Linked DNA regions of Homo sapiens: region 2 is linked to region 1. The links are contacts of gene promoters, found by promoter capture Hi-C in blood cells and fetal thymus (Javierre and others, 2016). All regions are on one chromosome and are shown on one strand. Each heading gives the region's core, a stretch centred on a gene start or on the middle of the fragment in contact. The rest is flanking DNA. Distances are from core to core; before and after follow the strand shown.

Region 1 (3,671 bases), core at 692-3,191:
TAATTTCCATTAAGTTAAACTTTCCTTCTCTGGGTCTTGTTAGCAATATATGTTTGTTCATTCAAGCAAACCTGTGTCCTTTCCAAACATTTAAGCTCAACTAGATTTAAATGACCCTGGGAATAAAAATGGAGCAGGCCCTCTGGGGTTCCAGGTCTATGCTCATGCACTAAGCAACTAAAACAGAAATCATAACCTATGGCAGGTGGCCATTAGAAGGTTATGCCCTCACAGACCAAGAAGCTTGGGTCAGAAATCACTTTCCCACAATTTTATCCCATTTAACATTTAAACTAATATATGCAAACTGCTCACAGCACCTGGAATATTCAAATTGAATTAAAGATGCATGAAGAGGGCGTACAAGTTAGAATTTTTCTTTCGCCATACAGAAATTGTTTAGCCAGATCTTCTGTACTTCTTTTCCTTCCTAACACTCAGAATTCAGAAGAGAAGACATAAGAAAAAAAGCATAAAGTCATCATTACCTGTATCAGAATTTGTTTAAAAAACAACCAGTGGGGCAGGTGAACTGACCAGCGTCTTCCCAGCTTTAGTCACTGCAGTGGCAATGAGGCGCTCTCCACACCCCCAGTTATGTGACAGGCTAGAGCCCTGGTGTTCTCTCTTCAGAACCCCCCTCTCCTCCTTGGCAAGCTTCAAGCAACACCCCCAAAGACGCTGCTGGATCCAAACAACAGACAAAGCTCTCCACAGGAGCAGTTCTGAGCAGCACCCTGCAATTCTAAGGAGACTGCATGGGGGCAGGACATTTTCTTCTAGAACACTGGTTAGATTCTGCTAGAACTGGGGCAAGAAAATAGCTGTATGGCATAAAGTCTACTTGAGGGAAAAGAACAACCCGGCACGGTTACGTTCAATCAGACACTAAACAGAGTGCACGCCCACCCAGGGGACACTGAGGTCGCTGGGCCAGTGTCCCCGCCTGGTTGCAGGTCCCTAACCCCTCCGGGAGTGCAGAGCTGCGGGCAGGCCACACTCACCCTGACCCTTCCTGCTCCCCAGGAAGGGAGGTCAGCCCCGTTTGCAAAACACAGGATGCCCGTGACACCGGAGACAGGTCTTCTTCACCGACAGGAAGTGCCTTCTGGTGCCTGCACGTTTTAACTAAGATGTGTCGCCAATTACTTTTAATTACTGTCGTCCACGCTATTGTCATCAGCATTTCACAAGTTTCTCGGAAGCCCATCACGCAGCCCATACCCTGCGGTTCTCCGGGGACTTATGCATCGGCCCAAGTTGAGGGTTTGTCTGAACTGAAACCCGCATCCTAGACCTGGCTTTCTTCTCCCCAAATCCAAGGGGACACCCCGGTGACCCACAAAAGCTTAGAAAATCCAACACGCAGCAAATGAAACGGGGGAAAGGGGCACCGGCCCTCACTCTGGCCTCTTAGACACACGATATGAAACCTTCATAAAACCTGTTGTACAAGTCAAAGGGGACCACGCTGGGGTAAAAGTCAAACCAGTCCATCCTCGTTCCTCTGCGTACAGAGAGAGGGTCCAGCGCGGGCGGCGCCCACTGCCATCGGGCCGGGGCCGGGGCGCGTGGACAGGAGGGTGCGGATAGAGGCAGATCGGGGGCCCGGTCGCCCCACGTGCGGCCAGACACCCATCCCGGCCGCGCTCTGCCGGCTCTGATCCGGTGCCAGACAGGAGCGACAGGGGCGAGGTGGGGACCAGCCGCCGACCTCACCTGTTTTGTTTTCTTGGAGGAAATTCCTCCGCTGGGGGGCCGAGGTGGCACCGCCCGCTCGCCCCCCGCAAGACCCAGCCGGTCCGCGCCCGCTTACCTGCTCTGCGGCCGGCGGCCCTGGCGCGGGCTCTGCGCGGGGCGGCGCCCTTCGCTCCGGCTGGGCAGGCAGGTCGGGCTCGGGCGCCGCCGGCTGTCGGGCTCTCGTCGGGTTTCGGGTGAAGGCCCCGGCTCCCACCTGCTGCGCCTTTTAACCGCGCCCCACCCCGCCTCTGCCCTGACGCGGCTCGGGCGGGCTGCGGGAGGCGAGCGCTGTCACTCGACGAGCCCCCCGCCCCCACCTACCCGGGGCGCACTAGCCGCTGGGCGCGGACCGTCCCCCTGAGGAGCAAGGAGTGCAGGACCGGGGCTGTCCCTCCGGGGCCGGATGCGCAGAGCGGGGACCTTTTTCCCGTGGCGGGGGCGCAGGGTGGGGGACCCCTAAGAAGTGCACAGTGCGCGGGGCCCTCTTTCCGGCCCTTGGAGGGAACGGGGTACCGGGGATGCAGGGGGTAGGGCTCTCCCTCGGGAGCGCAGAGGGCGGGCCCAGCCCCCTCTGCACGGGTGCAGGTGTGGGGCGCCTGCTCAGGCCCTCGAGGGAACTCTTCCTCCCTAGTGCACCCGTGGGGAGCAGTGTGAGGGGCAGGCTGTGTTTTTGCCAGGACACATCCTCAGTCTTTCTGGGTGATCCAGCCTTCTCATAGCCCGCGGGGTGCACAGACCTCTCCTATAGGAGCCTGGAGGTTCTTTATTAATTAATGACCACTTAGAGGAGGTACAGGGGTTGTTTTTATTAATTACCTCCATCCTTTGAAGACTCCTCCGGGGAAGCGGAGCAGGCCTTCCTCGGGACAGTGCACCAGGAGAGACCACATTGCCTCCCCGCTTTTCAGTCAAGACTAGAAAGCTCAGGGCCAGTACAGGGAGTGGTGCAAGGGCTGGTGGGGTGGAAACGTTGGAAGCTATTTAGGCACCTGGCTTTACAGGTTCAAACCTGTCACGCATCGGACAAAAGATGTGTGACTTGCTTATTCTACAAAACTGTTCGGTAATTAAACGTCCCCACCTAAACCATATGCCACTTGTTGGGTCATATTCTCCCACGAAACAATTAAGATGTCTGTTAAAGGTCATGGAATTTGAGCCAAGACTTCATAAAAATCCGCTTTCCAAAATATTTTATTTGAGGAGAACAAGGTTCTTAAAGAATTTGCCCAAGTCAAGTTTTAAAAACTTTGGGGAGGCCCCTGAAATGGCCTTGAACTTGGAGAGTGGAGAGACACAGAAATCTCTAGGCTTTTTAAATTTATTTATTTATTTATTTATTTATTTATTTATTTATTTATTTTGACTAAGTCTGGCTCTGTTGCCCAGGCTGGAGTGTGGTGGTGTGATCTCAGCTCATTGCAACCTCTGCCTCCCGGGTTCAAGTGATTCTCCTGCCTCAGCTTCCCGAGTCGCTGGGATTACAGGCCCGCACCACCATGCCTGGCTAGGTTTTGTATTTTTAGTAGAGCTGGGTTTCACCATGTTGGCCAGGCTGGTCTGGAGCTCCTGACCTCAGGTGATCCACCTGCCTCAGCCTCCCAAAGTGCTGGGATTACAGGCGTGAGCCACCGCGCCGAGCATCTCTAGGCTTTTTTGTTAGACATCCTCACACTGCCCAGATGTGCCCTATGCGGTAAATCTTGGGTGCTCTGTCCTGCCCCACACAATCTAACTGTGGACTTCCCAGTCTTCTCTCCATTCCTCTCCCAAACAGATGCTTCAGCCAGGCTCAGCTGTTTGCATAGTAAAATAATTTTTCTAAGCAGATTGTAAACTTCTTTGGGGATTATAAACAGTTTAAGCTTTTCTTCCTCTTCTTCTTCTTTTGCATTTCTACAATACTAAGTACTTTGCTCATAGTATGTGCT
Region 2 (3,723 bases), core at 1,224-3,723, 260 kb after region 1:
AAGTTTTTGTATTTTCAGTAGAGATGAGGTCTCACCATATTGGCCAGGCTGGTCTTGAACTCCTGAGCTCGAGCAATCCGCCACCCTCAGCCTCCCAAGAGTGCTGGGATTACAGGCGTGAGCCACCACACCCAGCCTTCATCTTTATTTCTTTAAAGAAACACATAAATGGTGCTTCTCTTCGTGTACTCCTCTAAGCACTGTGTATTACTCAATTCACCTAAGTAATTCTTCAGGTTGGCATTCGTAGCATGGCGACTTGGTTTCCACCTTGGACCAGCCTTTCCTACCTTTCCAATGGGTCTGTAACGTGGCCTTAGAAACATCCTCAAAGGGACTTCTCATCTCATTCATCTCTTCCTCCCACACAATCCTCCCACCCCCACCCCAAAATCCACTTGTCAAAAGTCAAGACAAGCTCTAATCCTACCTGCATTAAACCTTCCCGAAGCCTCCCGGTCAGAACTATTCCTACCCACTCCTTTCTCTGGTACTGGAGGTACAACAATTTCTGAAGAATATAAACTCTCATAGGAATTAAACCTACTAGTTTACATCATCTTTCTCTAGTTTCCTCTCCTCATCCGGCTTGGCTCTGTGTTCTACATAATAGATATGGCTCAACATGTCATGCCTTGTAAATACACTCATTTAATCTATAAAATAAAGATAGACTGTAGTTAAAGAGCAGTTTTCACTAGTGCCAACCATGTACAGAACGCCATATACTGCCCCATGTCATTCTTTATTACCAAAATTGTTATAAATGGCCACATTATAAAATAATTACCATTTCCTGAGCATTTTCTGTGTGCCAAGTACTATGTAAGTGCTTTACATGCCTTCTAAATTCACATATTCCCCCCAAATTACTCTTTAACAGAAAAACTTGCCTTATTACCCAAGTCTATTATAATGTTCTCATATTATGGAGGGTTCACCACTTTATAAAAAACAATATACTCTTTGAGGGAGACACATTAACCAGAACTAATTCAGTTAGGGTAGTTTTGGATGTTTATAGAAATCATATGATAAACTATCAAAAAAATGGGATGGGGAGACAAAGAAATTTAACATGGATAGATGAATTATTCCTAGGGGATGACTTTACAATTGTTACTGCTAGGAAATTTATAAAGTAGCTATAGAAAGATTCTTTAAAAGAAAAAAAAAAGCACAGCAAGTTGCCATGCTATGGAATCACAAGTGTATTATTACAAAAGGAAAAAACATCTAAATGTTTGAGAATTAGTCTTTGAGGCTGGGGATAAAATTTGCAGTGCCAGCATTGTAGATGGGTTCAAAAAGCTCTGCATAGCAAACATCTCCAAGAGGCAAAGGTAACATGGTCTGGGAACTCTGTTCAGAGAGACTCAAAAAGTGATTGTAATGAAGACAAACATGCTGAAGTTGGAGATATCAGCCCAGAGTTTGAACAAAAGCATTCTGTGAAATGTGAAAGTAGAAATATTATAATAATAGATCACTTATTAATATTTCAATCACATTATATAACTAAATACTTTCCTTAAAAACTAAACTCACGGCTGGGAACAGTGGTTTATGCCTATAATCCAAGCTACTTGGGAGGCTGAGGCTCAAGAATCGCTTGAACCCAGGAGGCGGAGGTTGCAATGAGCCAAGATCACACTACTGAACTCCAGCCTGGGTGACAGAGCGAGACTCTATCTCAAAAAAAAACAAAAAACAAAAAGCAAAAAAAACTTAACTCATGCAGTTTACCGTGGCTCACGCCTGTAATCCCAGCACTTCGAGAGGCCAAGGCCAGCGGATCACTTGAGGTCAGGAGTTTGAGACCAGCCTGGCTAACATGGTGAAACCCTGTCTCTACTAAAACTGCAAAAATTAGCTGGGTGTGGTGGTGCACACTTGTAATCCCAGCCACTCCACAGGCTGAGACAGGAGAATCGCTTGAATCCAGGAAGTGGAGGCTGCAATGAGCCGAGATCACACCACTGCACTCCAGCCTGGGCCAACAGAGTGACTCTGTCTCAAAAAAATAAAAAATAAAACTAAATTCATGTGAAAGAAGCTTCTCTGCCAAGACCAGGCCTGGAGAGCATCTGTGCTCTTCAGAAGCAACTCTGCCAAGACCAGGCCTGGAGAACATCTGTGCTCTTCAGAAGCAACTCCTCTTATAGCACCTGCAACTACGGGTAGAAACAGGTGGCACTGGGAACTCATTAGGAGCCCTCAGGTCTCTTTAAAGTCCCTTCAACTTCATACAAACTTCACCATATCAAGAGATAGAGGATAATATATTAGAAAGAGATAAGAAGTTGAAAAACAGTCCTCTCCTTGTGTTCTGTTGTGACACACATTTGTTTAATGAATTTTTAGCAAATTGAGAATTTAACAATTTTAAGAAATTTTAGAGTCATAGAGACCTAAAATCTCCATCTTCTGTATTTGACCCGAATCTTAGAGCAGGAAATGACCAGAGAACACACACAGCCTTTTCGGTTTGCTTCCAAATTCTCAGCTAGAATATCAACAGAGTAACGACGTGAAATGTGCAAATCTCAGAACACAAAATATCAAGGAAAGATACTGGGAATAATGACTCTTTTAGCTTTAGGTAAATTTGCATAAACCTTATAGCAGTAAGTGCAGCCTTTGAAAAGACAAGGGTATGCCTCAGGATTCTTCAACAGGGCAGGGCCTGTGCGTGGGCACAGGAGCTCCAGGAGCGGGATGCCTGGAAAGAGGGCCAAGCCACAGGGGCTGCTCCCAGCTCCACCTGCAGGGACCACTCACCTCTCCAGGCTCATCCCGCTGTGCAAACAACCCTCATGAGGATTTCTCTTTTTTAAAGTAAAGTTGTTGGAAAGGCTACATGCAAGTGAAAGGTTTTCTTTTTGATGATGTAAGCTTTTGCTCAATTACATATGAGAACAATAATATAATCTGTCATTTGATAAGATGATAAAACAAAATAAAATAGTATTAGCAGTCCAGAAAACCTATTTTTGCTAAAACTGTTAATGCCTCTAAAATACAACATTGTCACCAGAATCCCTAGTGGCCTCACGGATAAGGCATTGGTCTCTTGAAACAGAACATTGTCACGCTAGTTTGATGAGAACCCAGGATAGAGGGTGTTTTGGGGATCACATTTCCTATCACATAAAACAAAATCCTGCCCTTGAAGATGCAAAATGCCCACACCTGCCACTGCTCTGTATCCTGCCCTGTTCCTCCGGAGAGGCTGGGAGACAATGTCTCAGGCCCCACAGATGCGGCGCCAGTGTCCTTCACTCACCTGAATGTGCATGGCACCCTCTACTGCTTCTTGGATATTGGGACAACCACTGATGAGTGACAGCTGCTCTTCCACACTCAGGGAGCCTTTCAGAGAACCTGCCTGCTCCAGCAACTTCATCTCCTTTCTGGAAAGGCAGAGAGAAGGATCACTGTGAGTATTCAACACCACATTTAAAAACAGATAAAGCCCAACATCAGGAATCATCAGGGAAATGCCAAGCAGAACCACAGTGAGATACCACCTCACACCCATTAGGGGCTACCAAAAATAGAAACTAGCAATTGTTGGCAAGGATGTGGAGAAACTGGAACCATTGTGCACTGCTGGTGAGACTGTAAAATGGTGCAACCGCTATGGAAAACAGATATGGCAGTTCCCAAAAACAGAATTACAGTATGATCCAGCAATTCAACTTCTGGGTATAAACCCAAAAT

The links. The method cuts DNA at HindIII sites, captures the fragments that hold promoters and counts their contacts. A CHiCAGO score of 5 or more calls a contact.
Region 2: a fragment that was not itself captured here is called in contact with the fragment with the promoter of GJB6 in region 1 in 9 of 17 cell types (M0 macrophages, naive CD4 T cells, fetal thymus and 6 more); the score reaches 13.3 in M0 macrophages.

The regions. Positions count from the first base shown.
Region 1 is chr13:20,230,378-20,234,048 of GRCh38, forward strand. It overlaps GJB6 (gap junction protein beta 6), which reads right to left and starts at 1,942. Exons shown (of 5, transcript NM_001110219.3): 1 at 1,817-1,942; 2 at 1,005-1,128; 3 at 321-430. The HindIII fragment of the contact is 2,257 bases long and covers 1,347-3,603 here.
Region 2 is chr13:20,486,084-20,489,806 of GRCh38, forward strand. CRYL1 (crystallin lambda 1) reads right to left here. Exons shown (of 8, transcript NM_015974.3): 3 at 3,287-3,413. Among named protein-coding and RNA genes, the nearest start is that of CRYL1, 38 kb to the right of the region's middle. The HindIII fragment of the contact is 839 bases long and covers 2,055-2,893 here.